Regions from separate parts of the Homo sapiens genome. Here regions 1 and 2 are each linked to region 3. Evidence: promoter capture Hi-C in 16 types of primary human blood cells and fetal thymus (Javierre and others, 2016). All regions are on one chromosome and are shown on one strand. The core of a region is centred on a gene start or on the middle of the fragment in contact, and the rest is flanking DNA. Distances in the headings are between cores, read along the strand shown. Region 1 holds the start of ZCCHC10 (zinc finger CCHC-type containing 10). Region 2 overlaps RAD50 (RAD50 double strand break repair protein). Region 3 holds the start of SHROOM1 (shroom family member 1).

Region 1 (3,738 bases), core at 525-3,024, 200 kb before region 3:
TTACTCTTTCTGTTGTTGTGGTAAATGATCTAATTGTTCAGCAATAGGGTACTGGCTGGATACTTGGGGAATATCCATGTAATCCATAACATAATGTATAAAAAGAATGAATTAGATCTGTATGTGCAGACATGGGAAAATATTTTCTTTTCTTTTTTTGTTTTTGAGATGGAGTTTCACTCTTGTTGCCCAGGCTGGAGTGCAATGGCGCGATCTCGGCTCACTGCAACCTCTGCTTCCCAAGTTCAAGCGAATCTCTTGCCTCAGCCTCCCGAGTAGCTGGGATTACATGAATGCACCACCACGCCCGGCTAATTTTTTTTGTATTTTTAGTAGAGATGGGGTTTCTCCATGTTGGTCAAGCTGGCCTTGAACTCCCAACCTCAGGTGATCCGCCCTTCTCGGCCTCCGAAAGTGCTGGGATTACAGGCGTGAGCCACTGCGCCTGGCCGGGAAAACATTTTCATAAGTACACTGAGGAATGAAAAAATCAAGCTGGAGAACACAACATGTAAGAGCCTATTTTTTTGAAGAACAAGTTGTGCTCAAAGGTCACATCATCACCTTCCCTAACTCCTAATCACTCTTTAATCCCTTACTCTGAAATATTTTTCGTTAGAGTACTTATGCCCATGAGAATAGTCTTCATTCATTGTCTGTAGAAAGTTCCATGTGTACACGGATTTTATTTGTTCAAATGCTCTGTCCTCAGCTCCTAAAACATTTTAAGTGTTAATTATTAATTGAAAAAATATGGCTGGGCGCGGTGGCTCACGCCTGTAATCCCAGCACTTTAGGAGGCCGAGGCGGGCGGATTATGAGGTCAGGAGATCGAGACCATCCTGGCCAACATGGTGAAACCCTGTCTCTAGTAAAAATACAAAAATTAGCTGGGCATGGTGGCGCGTGCTTGTCATCCCAGCTATTCGGGAGTGTGAGACAAGAGAATCTCTTGAACCAGGGACCCAGAGGTTGCACTGAGCCGAGATCGCGCCACTGCACTCCAGCCTGGCGACACAGCGAGACTCTGTCTCAAATTAAAAAAAAAAGGAAAAAATATGGATGACCCAGAAACACACACACACTTCAGAAAATTATATATATTTCAGAGAACGTGGGTTTTAAGAGAATAATAGCTCCGTGAGCTGACATTAGATGTAGGTGCAGCTAAAATATTCTAAAATATTTGTATAGTCCTTTTCTGCTTGATAAAGCAGCTTTAGTTATACAGTCCCATTTAGTACTCGTAACAACGCTGTGAAATACATAAAAAACAGAAATAACGTATATGTTTGCACTCCATGGCTTGCTAAAGTCATTCTTTCAATTGATGGTCTCAATCCTGGTCAACTAATTCCTTTCTATTCTCCAGACTACTTCTAGTTTTCTGAACACCAAAGTTTCATTCTTTGTCTTTGTATGTGTATCCCTCGTTCGAGAATGTTGTCCTCATTTTCCACAGATAATGTTCTTGCCTGTAATCATCCTTTGAAACCCTGTTCGGCCCGAGAACCCGAGACCCATACTGGAGACACCGGCCCCTCCCGACCCACCAGTCCCTCCCGTCCCGACCCTCCAGCCCCTCCAGCCCCTCCCCTCCCGACCCTCCAGCCCCTCCCCTCCCGACCCTCCAGCCCCTCCCCTCCCGACCCACCAGCCGGCACTAAGATACCTCCCCTTAGAAGCCTGTCTGGCCCCGCCTACGTCTACGGCCTCCCGGTTGGAAGCCCCGCCCTTCCGAGGAGTTTCCCAAAACCCTGCGCGGCCGGCTTTGACCGCGCTAAGATGGCGACTCCCATGCATCGGCTAATAGCCCGGAGACAAGCGTAAGTAAGGATCCGGTTCGGGTCCACTGGAGGGCTGGGAGCGGGGAAACGCGCGTCAACGGGCTGGTGTCGGACCCCTATTGGGACCGGCGGAGAATGTCCGTTTCTCAAACACTCTTCTGGCTCCCGGGGGGCTCGGGCCCGGGCGATAAGTCTGGTGACCGGGGGTTAGCGATTTCGCGGAAGACAGCCGCGTAAAGTCTGCGGCACGGGACAGAGCGGGGTTTGAAGACAACTGTCGCGTTTGGTTTCTCTGAAAGGAACGCCCACAGTTGGTCACTCAGTGATTTATGCCCCTCCGCCAACCCCACGCGTGGACAGGGGAGCCCTGAAGCCCCGGTCCGACACCTTTATTCCAGCCGACGTAAACCTTCAGTTTCCTATTCAGTGTCCAGCCCAGCTGCCTTTTCCTACTTCCTTATTCTAGCGCCTTCCTTAGGAACACCCTGCCTTCAATGCCGATTGCTTTCCCAGGCTATCTTACCACCTTTTGCTACTCATTCTCTCTTTCAATAAATATTAATTTATTTAGTTCCTACCGTTCTGTGCCAGACATTGGGTATAAATAGAGGTGTTCAAGACAAAATCCTTGCTTTCAGAGAGCTTACATTCTAGTGATGGAAACAGTCGATAAACCACAAATTGTAAATACAGCTGGTGATAACAGCTTTGAAGGAAGTAAGCTGTTGTGATGGAAAGAGGGAAAGGCCCACTTTAGGTTGGTTGGACTGGAAAGGCATCTCTGAAGAGGTGGAATTTGAACAGAGATTTAAAGGATGAAAAAGGAACAGTCATACGAGGATTTTGAGAAAGAGCATCCGGATAGTGGCATAATTGCTTTGAGCCTGAAACTTACTTTTTACAGAACTGAAAGATAGCCATTACGCCTAATGAACAAGAGAGAGTGGCAGAAGAGATTCATAGCTGACAAATAATGCAAGGGTCACCCCAGATGCCCCTTTCTTTTTTTTTTTTTTTTTTTTTTTTTTTTTTGAGGCGGAGTCTTGCTCTGTCTCCCAGGCTGGAGTGCAGAGGTGCAATCTTGGCTCACTGCAAGCTCCGCCCCCCGGGTTCACGCCGTTCCCCTGCCTCAGCCTCCCGAGTAGCTGGGACTACAGGCGCCCGCCACCATGCCCGGCTGGTTTTTTGTATTTTTAGTAGAGATGGGGTTTCACCGTGTTAGCCAGGATGGTCTCGATCCCCTGACCTCGAGATCCGCCCGCCTTGGCCTCCCAAAGTGCTGGGATTACAGGCGTGAGCTACCGCGCGCGGCAACCCCTTTCTTATAAAGCTTTTTTTTCCAACAGCCTTTGCACATCCAGACATCTGCCTCTTTTTCATAAATATTTCATGCCATCTCCATTTTCATGTCTATATGTAGCTCAGAGTCTGCTAGTATATGTATGTGTGTTTATCTGTATATCTTTTTATATTTTTTAATTCAAATAATCCCTTTTTCTTCTCCTTTCCATCTACCCTTTCAGGCCTGATAAGAAGAGTTCCTCAAATGTACAGACAGACTTAGGGAGTTAGAGTAGTAAGCTTGGTGAAGGAAGAAGGCTCGAAGTCAGACAGGTTTTTTTTGTTTTTTTTTTAGACGGAGTCTCACTCTGTTGCCCAGGCTGGAATGCAGTGGTGCGATCTTGGCTCACTGCAACCTCTGCCTCCCTGGTTCAAATGATTCTCCTGCCTCAGCCTCCCGACTAGCTGGGACTACAGGCGTCCGCCACCATGCCCTGCTAATTTTTGTATTTTTTAGTAGAGACGGGGTTTCACCATGTTGGTCAGGCTGGTCTCGAACTCCTGATGTCAAGTGATCTGCCCACCTTAGCTTCCCAAAGTACTGGGATTACAGGCATGAGCCACTGCGCCCACCATTAAGTCAGACAATTCTGAGATCAAAAATGGGATG
Region 2 (4,082 bases), core at 1-2,500, 240 kb after region 3:
CCAAAGACTGAATTAATGAATCTCTAGCTCGGATATGTTCTTGATGGCGATCTGCTTGCAGCTGTAGACGACCTTTTAAAAAAAAAATCTCATAATTTTTTTTTCAACTGGTGCTTAAAAAGTTGAGATAGCTGCAGATTCACGAGTTATAAAAAATAATGCAGTGTGTCTCTTGTACATTTTGCCCAGTTTCTCCCAATGATAACATTTTGCAAAACTGCAGTAAAATATCACAACCAGAATACTGATATTGATATAATTCATCAATCTTATTCAAATTTCCCCAATTTTATTTGTACCCCTGAGCATGTGGATGTGTGTATATTAAGTTCTATATAATTTTATCACCTGTGTCGGTTCATATATCCACTATGGCAGTCAAGATACTGAACAGTTCCAATACTACAAGGACTCTCTTTTTGTTCTAATCATAACCATACCTAGCTCCCTCCTGTCCTTTCTCTTACCCAGTATCCCTGGCAACCACTAATTTCTCCACTATTTCTAAAATTTTGACATTATAAAAATGTTATATAAATGGAAACATACTGTGTATAGCCTTTTAAGATTGGCTTTTCACTCAGCATAAGTCCTTGGAGATTCTTCATTCATACAGAAAATGTATAACATCATAGTAGGAAAAACGACCAAATAAACATTTTGTCCTACCCTGTTCAACAAGCAGTTCTGATTTTTCCTGATTGAGAAGCCTAGATTCTTTATTTAGTTTTTCCAGTTCACGATGACAGTCTACCAATTTCCTTTCTTTCTCCCTTACTGTTCTCTGGTGATTGTGATATAAGTCATTTAGTTGCTCATCAGTCCCTTGAAAAACCTGTGTAACACCAAAATAAAAAGCTTTAATGTACAAACATAAGAAAATATGATCACTTTGAGGTATCAAATATAAACCAAACCTTATTCAATATCCTTCATTTTAACATATACATAGAAGTAACAAGATCTGTATTTGTTTTTTTCCAATGTGGATGGCAAAATGGATTCAAATAAAGTTCATTACAATAATCCCAAAATTTTGAAGCAGAACAAAATTCTACCACCACAAACCTTTTCCATTTTCTCTTCCAGTTCACTATTATCTTTCTCCATTTGCTTCTTTCGGCTATCCAAGGCTTTAATTTCATTGTCAAGTTTCATTATTTTAGAGAGATTATGTTCAATTTCTTTTAGACGATTCTGAAAATAAAGAAACATTACATAAATAAAACTCACTATAGCTTACATGGCTGATAGATGAAGACAAGTAAGATACTCCAGGTCCAGGCATTTAGTAAAAGTGATCTCATTTAAGGCTAACAATAACACTGTAGAGCAGGCCTAGAGAAACTGAAGTTCAGAGACATTAAGTAACTTGGCCCAAGTCCTCACAGCTAGTAGAGAGAAGCAGGAATTAAATTCCACTTCTAACTCCAAACACCATGTCCTGTCCTCAACACCTGCCACAAAAGTCATTATTCATTCATTGGGCATTTAGAGTTACTTAATCCTTAAAAAGGTAACTATTTAATGTATTTTTTTAAGTCAGGACTACTGAGAAGGCTAGAAATTCATGGTGAGTTACCAATGCATTCTGAGCCTATAGGCAAATTTACATGAAGAGTATACTTTAATCCAAAGCTTGCTCAACCACAGAGGACTCTGAGCAAGTAAAGTACAACAAGGGAGCTCAGTGGCCTGCTCTGAGGCTCGCTTCCAGAGACAGCTGGTTGCCTCATCTCCCAGGAATACTGGGATCTGGTTCGGGGCATTCTCTTATTGGATGATGCTGGGGATATTCTTCTAGTGTTTGCCTCTATGATTCCAAAACTGACCAACTCTTCTTCTAAGACATTTTTACAACCTACTTTTATTATTATTATTTCAAATGCAGAGACAAGGTCTTGCTATGTTGCCCTGGCTGGAGTGGCTATTCACAGGTGCAATAACAGTGCAATACAACTTGAACTCCTGGGCTCAAGTGTTCCTCCCACCTCAGCCTCCAAGTAGCTGAGACTATAAGTATGTACCACCATGCCCAGCAGAACCTAATTTTAAACTAACATATGAAGTTATTGGAATGCTTAGACAGCAATTGCAAGCTTTCATAATTGCACCAAAATGCATCCTCGACTTTAACATAATTTATTAAAATTATACTAATAGTATAGCTTGTGATTTGTATATGAACGTAAACGTTCATATACAAATGAACCTAAAAACAGAAACTTTGTTTACTTTGTTCCCTAATGTATCCCCAGAACATGCAATAGGTGTTCAATGTTAGCTAAACGAAAGAGAGATTTGAAAAAAATAATTTTACCAAGAGCAACAGTCACAGGTATCACTGATTGAATGTCTGCTATGTTCCAGACACTGTACTAGGTGCTGCTATAAATTCTCTCTAATCCTCACAAAAGTATATACTAAGCAGGAAATTCAAAGGACTTAACTGACTTGTACAAAATTGTATAGTTAAGATTGGGAGACAAGATAACAATAAGATTAGAAGGCAGGGTATCATAATGACTAGGCTCTGGGTGCTAGAAGAAGTGGACATTTGTATGTAAGAAAGTAAACCTCAACTTTTACCTCATATCATATTAAGATTCTGAAATGAAGCATATACTTAATTGTAAGAACTCAAACTATAAAACTTTTAGAGGAAAACACTGAAGAATATTTTTGTGACACTGGGTCAAAGACTTCCTAAATAATAAACAAAAAGTATAAACCATAAGAGAAAAAAGTTTATAAACTGTACCTGATCAAAATTTAAAACTCCTGTCCTCTGAAAAGCAGTTAAGAAATATCTGCAAAACCAATATCTGATAAAGGGCTTGTATCCAGAACATATTTAGAACTCTCTGCCTGGCACTGTAGCTCACACCTGTAATCCCAGCACTTTGGGAGACTGAGGCAGGCTGATTGCTTGAGCCCAGAAGTTTGAGACCAGCCTGGGTAACCTGGTGAGACCTTGCCTCTACAAGTCTCACCGGTGTGGTGAGTGTGTGCCTGTAGTCCCAGCTACGTGGGAGACTGAGGTGGAAGGATCACTTGAGCCTGGGAGTCAGAGGTTGCAGTGAGCCAAGATCACACCACTGCACTCTGGCCTGGGTAAGACAGCGAGACCCTGTCTCAAAAAACAAGAAAAAAAAAAAAAAAAAAAAGAACTCTCACAGCTCAATAATAAAATGACCAATAAATAAATAACATTGAAAAATAGGCAAAAGACTTTTATATTTTACTAACGAAGATATTCAGGTGGCAAATAAATACATGAAAAGATGCTCAAAATCAATAATCAATTGACTGATCAACTAGGAAAACACAAATTAAAAATATAAAGAAATACAACCTCACAATGTCACAATGAGACACTACCACACCCCTACTGTTATGGCTAAAATGAAAAAGACTGACAGTACTAAGTGGGGATGAGAATGCAGAGCAATTACATTCCCATAAATTGTTGGTATATTGTTGGTAGGACTATGAAGTGGTACCAGATGGTACAGCCATCTGGTAACTTATAAGGTTAAACATATATTTACCACACGACCTAGCAACCCGAGTCCTAAAGTTATCCAAAGACCTGTATACAGAAGTTTATAGCAGTTTTATCTGTAACAACCCAAAGCCGAAAACAACTTATTTCTTTTTATTATACTTTAAGTTCGAGGGTACATGTGCACAACATGCAGGTTTGTTACATATGTATACATGTGCCATGTTGGTGTGCTGCACCCATTAACTCGTCATTTACATTAGGTGTATCTCCTAATGCTATCCCTCCTCCCTCCCCCCACCCCACAACAGGACCCAGTGTGTGATGTTCCCCTTCCTGTGTCTGTCCAAGTGTTCTCATTGTTCAATTCCCACCTATGAGTGAGAACATGCGGTGTTTGGTTTTTTGTTCTTGCGGTAGTTTGCTGAGAATGATGGTTTCCAGCTTCATCCATGTCCCTACAAAGGACATGAACTCATCATTTTTTATGGCTGCATAGTATTCCATGGTGTATATGTGCCATATTTTCTTAATCCAGTCTATCATCATTGGACATTTGGGTTGGTTCTAAGTCTTT
Region 3 (4,051 bases), core at 241-2,740:
TGAGGTCACGAGTTTGAGACCAGCCTGGCCAACATGGCGAACCCCGTCTTTACTAAAAATACAAAAATTAGCTGGGCGTGGTGCCCGGTGCCTGTAATCCCAGCTACTTGGGAGGCTGAGGCAGGGAAAATTGCTTGAACCTGGGAGGCGCAGGTTTCAGTGAGCAGAGATCCGGCCACTGCACTCCAGCCTGGGCGACAGAGGGAGACTCTGTCTCAAAAAAGCAAAACAAACAACAAAAGTCTTTCAAAGCCGAAAGGTTCTTAGGCACTGTCTTAAAGCCTAGCGCTCCAGCTGAAGCTGGTGCCTGAGTCCAGATGGTGTTGAAGAAGGAGCAGGGCCCAGCGGGCACCACTCTCAGAAGTCGGGCTCAGGTGTCTCCTGCCTCCGAACCCAAGAAGACCCAAGAAGACAGAGTTCCTCAGGCTCCCAGTGTCCCTAGGAAGTGGCAACCTTGACTCTTGGCCAGAGTTCAGAGTCCTGGTTATTAACACCAATAAACCTTTATTTGCCAGGGATACTACCATGGGAGGACACAGCCCCTGAGCCCAGCCCTGTTGATCCTGTGGGAGCGGGAGGGCAGCGGAGGACAAAGGCAGAGACCTGAGAGCCGGAGAGGCTCATCAAAGGGTCCCCAGCCCCTCTCAGGAACGGAGCATTTCTTGGCAGAGTGGTATTCATAGGACAGAGTTTGGGAAGTCGGGGCAGGGGAGCCTGAGGACACAGCAAGGAGAGCTCAGTGGCAGGTGCAGGCAGAGCGTTCTTTGGAAAATGGAGATCCTGGAAGGTGAGGGCCTCGAGCGCCAGTGTCCAGCCTTAGTGGGTATGCATATGTCCAGCTCCCTAAGGACACACTCAGGACAGCTAAGGTGCACACAAGTCCAGGGGCTTCCCCGTGCTCCGCCCCCCTCTCCCCCACCCCGGTAGCAGGCTGGAGGGCCCAGACCATGCTGGGTAGTGGGAGAAATGGAAAGAAATGGGACAGGGAACAGGAGACAAGAGCCCATGGTGGGAGTCAAAGAGCTGGAAGAGTTTTGGAAATGGGGGTCTGGGGGTAGAGTTGATCAAGGGCCGAGTTACTCAGCGGGACAGGTGGGAGGCACGAGGCCCTGGCAGCTCTGTTTTCTTGGCCGGGCTTGGGGGGGAAAGCGGGTAGCCGTCAGGCGCCTAAGGGCCCGCCCTGGACCTCCCCACCGAGGGAGGTGTCAGGCCCCGAGGGACCCGGCCCCCGAGCATCACGGACGCGCTGGAGGCCGGTGGGCGGTCGCCGTAGTCGCCCTCCCACCACCTCGCTCAGGTTTCTCCGGCCTGGGGCAAGAGGCCTGTGGCCCGCGCGGGAACGCACTGTCCACCCTCAGACCTGGGACTGGGCCGGCGCGCGGACGCTACCAAGAGGCTGCGGCTCCCGCCCCCGCGGCCGGACGTGGCGCCTCCCCTGAGGCCGCGGCCGGAGCCTGGAGGTGGGGTCGGAGTCAGAGCCCGGGGCTCTGATGTCACCGCGCGGCTGCGACGGCCCAGGAGCGCGTCTCGGCGGGAGCCTCAGGTACGCGGCGGGGGCGGGGGAGCGGGAAGCGGGCGGCTGGGTCCGCTTCCCCCGGGAGGCCGGCGGGGCTGCGGGCGGACGGGGGTGAAGAGCGGGCGGCGAGGCGGTGGTCGCGGGGCAGCCCGGGCATCGTTCGGCCGGGACGTGTCTGGCTCGGCGCCGCGTCAGGTTGCGCCAGTGGAGTCGGACCCCAGCGCGCCTCTCCCAGCTGCAGAGCTGCAGGGCGGAGAGGCGGCCCACTCTAAGCTGGCGGCGCGGCTCAGGGGCGCGGCTGGGCGCGCCGCGTGTGGCGCCGGCGGGCAGCGCGGTCTCACTCCGCCACCCTCCGCTCCTGCCCTTTGTCGCCAAGCATCTGGAGAAGCCGGGTCCTTCCCTCCCGGGCTCGCGCTGTCCCCTGCGCGCGATCCTTCCCCGACGGTGAACCCAACGGGAAAGGCCCAGAACTGCGCGGGGCTGCGGCCATCTGCTGTCGAGCCGCTCCGCGTGTCTCTGCCGCCCCCTGCGGCCGCCGGGGCCTGCGCCTCTCTCCCTCCCGTGCCTCGGCTCCCAGAGATTGAACCCCAGGTAACCGGGTCTGTCCACGCCCGCGGCCGCCTCTCCCCGGGTGTCGCCAGCTTCCTGCATTTCCTGTGCATGGCACGGAGCTCGGGTCTCCAGAGACTCTGCATCTGGGGTGCAGCGACCGATGAGCCCGTAAACCAGTCGCACACTCGGAGCGTGGATGCTGCGTGGGGTGCGCTGTCAGCGCGGACAGGCTGGGAGAACGGGGGACGCTGGGGACAGGGAGAGCCGGTGAACTTCCCAGAACGTCCGCCTAGCCAGACCCAGCTGCGGGTACTGGGTTTTGAGACGTGGTCCAGTACCCAGGAACTCAGTCTGACAGGGAGACAGCGCCTACACAGTGAGCCCAGTACTGAGGGAAGACCCGCTGGGAGGGGCGGCCTGGATAGCCCCTCCACAGAGAGGTCAGATGTGAGGTGGCCTTGAGGGAGGTATGATGTAAATCCTGATCATTCGTTGTATTTGAGGCTGTCCGTTCTCCTGTGCCTCCTCGGTCGCCTTACTTGGATCTGTTCCCATTGCCTTGGTGTGATTTTATCCACCGGAAACTGTCTTCAGCTATTTCCCCAGTAACCTCTAACTAAAAACCTGGGTCTTGCCTGGTCTACCCTCCCCTGCTGAACTCCAGAGCCACATCCCAACTGCTGCCTGACTTGTCACAGACACCATGAAGCCCAGACTGAAGGAGCACTGGCCCCCTTGACAATTCCTCAGCCCCAGCTCCTCCTTTCAGACTGGTGCCTCCACCTGCCAGACCCCTAGCTTTGAAGGCCAATCTCATCTTCGTCTCCTTCCTCTCTGGCTCCTTCATTCAGGTGACAAGTATACATCAAATGCCCACCCCAACTCCCCCTCCCAGGACTCCAATCTGGTGTCTTTCTAGCGGGGAGTCTAGGTTGCTCCCTCTGCTCTGGAGAGGCTTGGCAAAATGCCTGCAGAGCTCCTTGAGCTCCACCTCTGAACTCCCTTTCAGCAGCCGGCACAGGCATAACAGCCCAGCCCACAGGTACCACTGCCACTGAGGCAGGGACCCCTAAGGTAGGGCTACCCCCAGCCACAGGGGCTGGCTGGACTGCAAGAGGCTCCCTGCAGCCAGACAAGTATGAAAATGCCTTGTTGTTTTGTGCTGAGGCCCCCCAAAACACACCAAAGCAGCTGGGCCCTCTTGGCATGGTAGGTTCTGCAAAGCACCCACTGTGAGGAGCCTGCGTGAACATCAACCTGATAGGGCCACCAGTGCAAAAGCATCTTCAACAAGTTACAGTCAATAAGGAAACACATGTGTAGACACATTTTTATTGCCCATTCAAGCTGTTTTTATTTGCTGAATTCAGAATCCTTTAACATAGTAACTCACAAATAAGATAGATTTTCATAGATTTTCAAGACCTCTTTTGAGGAAACATCTTGTGTTTGGTGATCCCCATCTGTAGCTGCAGCAAGCCAAAATGGGCAGGATGGGTGACATGAGCTAGTGCTCCCAAGCTGGACTCAGAAAGAGTAGGAAGAGAAAGGGCTAATGTCTGAGCAGTCGGGTGGGCTTCCTAGATGAGGGGACTGTCCTCCCAGGAGCTGCTACTCAGAGTAGTTTCTTGTCCTCCTAAAGTTTAGAGTGGAAATACTTTGCAAAAGAGGTCCCCAACCCTAAGTGTGAGGGCTAAGCTCCTGGGCTTAGTAGGCATATACAAATGCCCCCAGGTGGGTGACATCAAGATGTTCTGGTCCTAGGTCTGCTGAGAGCCTCTCCTGGGAATGTTGTAGGTACTGCCTTTCCCTTTTAGGAAACACCATATCCTCCTACCACTAACCCCCATCCTTGCCCTAACCAGCAATCTGTAACATCCTGGGCCTCAGGGACGTGGGTGGAGGGTGACTCTGAGCTCCAGATAGTGTCTAGGAGGCTCAAATAAGCCTGCTTTTTGGTCCTCACCCTAGCCGTGGGCCACC

Evidence for each region. Contacts are between HindIII fragments. The CHiCAGO score rates a contact against its expected background, and 5 or more counts as called.
Region 1: a contact is called between the fragment with the promoter of ZCCHC10 here and the fragment with the promoter of SHROOM1 in region 3, in 3 of 17 cell types (naive CD8 T cells, erythroblasts and M0 macrophages). The highest score is 5.9, in naive CD8 T cells.
Region 2: a fragment that was not itself captured here is called in contact with the fragment with the promoter of SHROOM1 in region 3 in 1 of 17 cell types (erythroblasts); the score reaches 5.5 in erythroblasts.

What each region holds. Positions count from the first base shown.
Region 1 is chr5:133,024,585-133,028,322 of GRCh38, reverse strand. It overlaps ZCCHC10 (zinc finger CCHC-type containing 10), which reads left to right and starts at 1,774. Exons shown (of 5, transcript NM_001300816.3): 1 at 1,774-1,826. The coding sequence starts at 1,786. RefSeq lists a silencer at 1,495-1,624 and an enhancer at 1,705-2,014. The HindIII fragment of the contact is 6,187 bases long and covers 1-3,119 here.
Region 2 is chr5:132,584,677-132,588,758 of GRCh38, reverse strand. RAD50 (RAD50 double strand break repair protein) reads right to left here. Exons shown (of 25, transcript NM_005732.4): 6 at 1,069-1,197; 7 at 670-835; 8 at 1-72. Among named protein-coding and RNA genes, the nearest start is that of RAD50, 30 kb to the right of the region's middle. The HindIII fragment of the contact is 780 bases long and covers 861-1,640 here.
Region 3 is chr5:132,828,086-132,832,136 of GRCh38, reverse strand. SHROOM1 (shroom family member 1) reads left to right here and starts at 1,490. Exons shown (of 10, transcript NM_001172700.2): 1 at 1,490-1,543. RefSeq lists silencers at 1,182-1,601, 1,812-2,121. The HindIII fragment of the contact is 14,647 bases long and covers 1-4,051 here.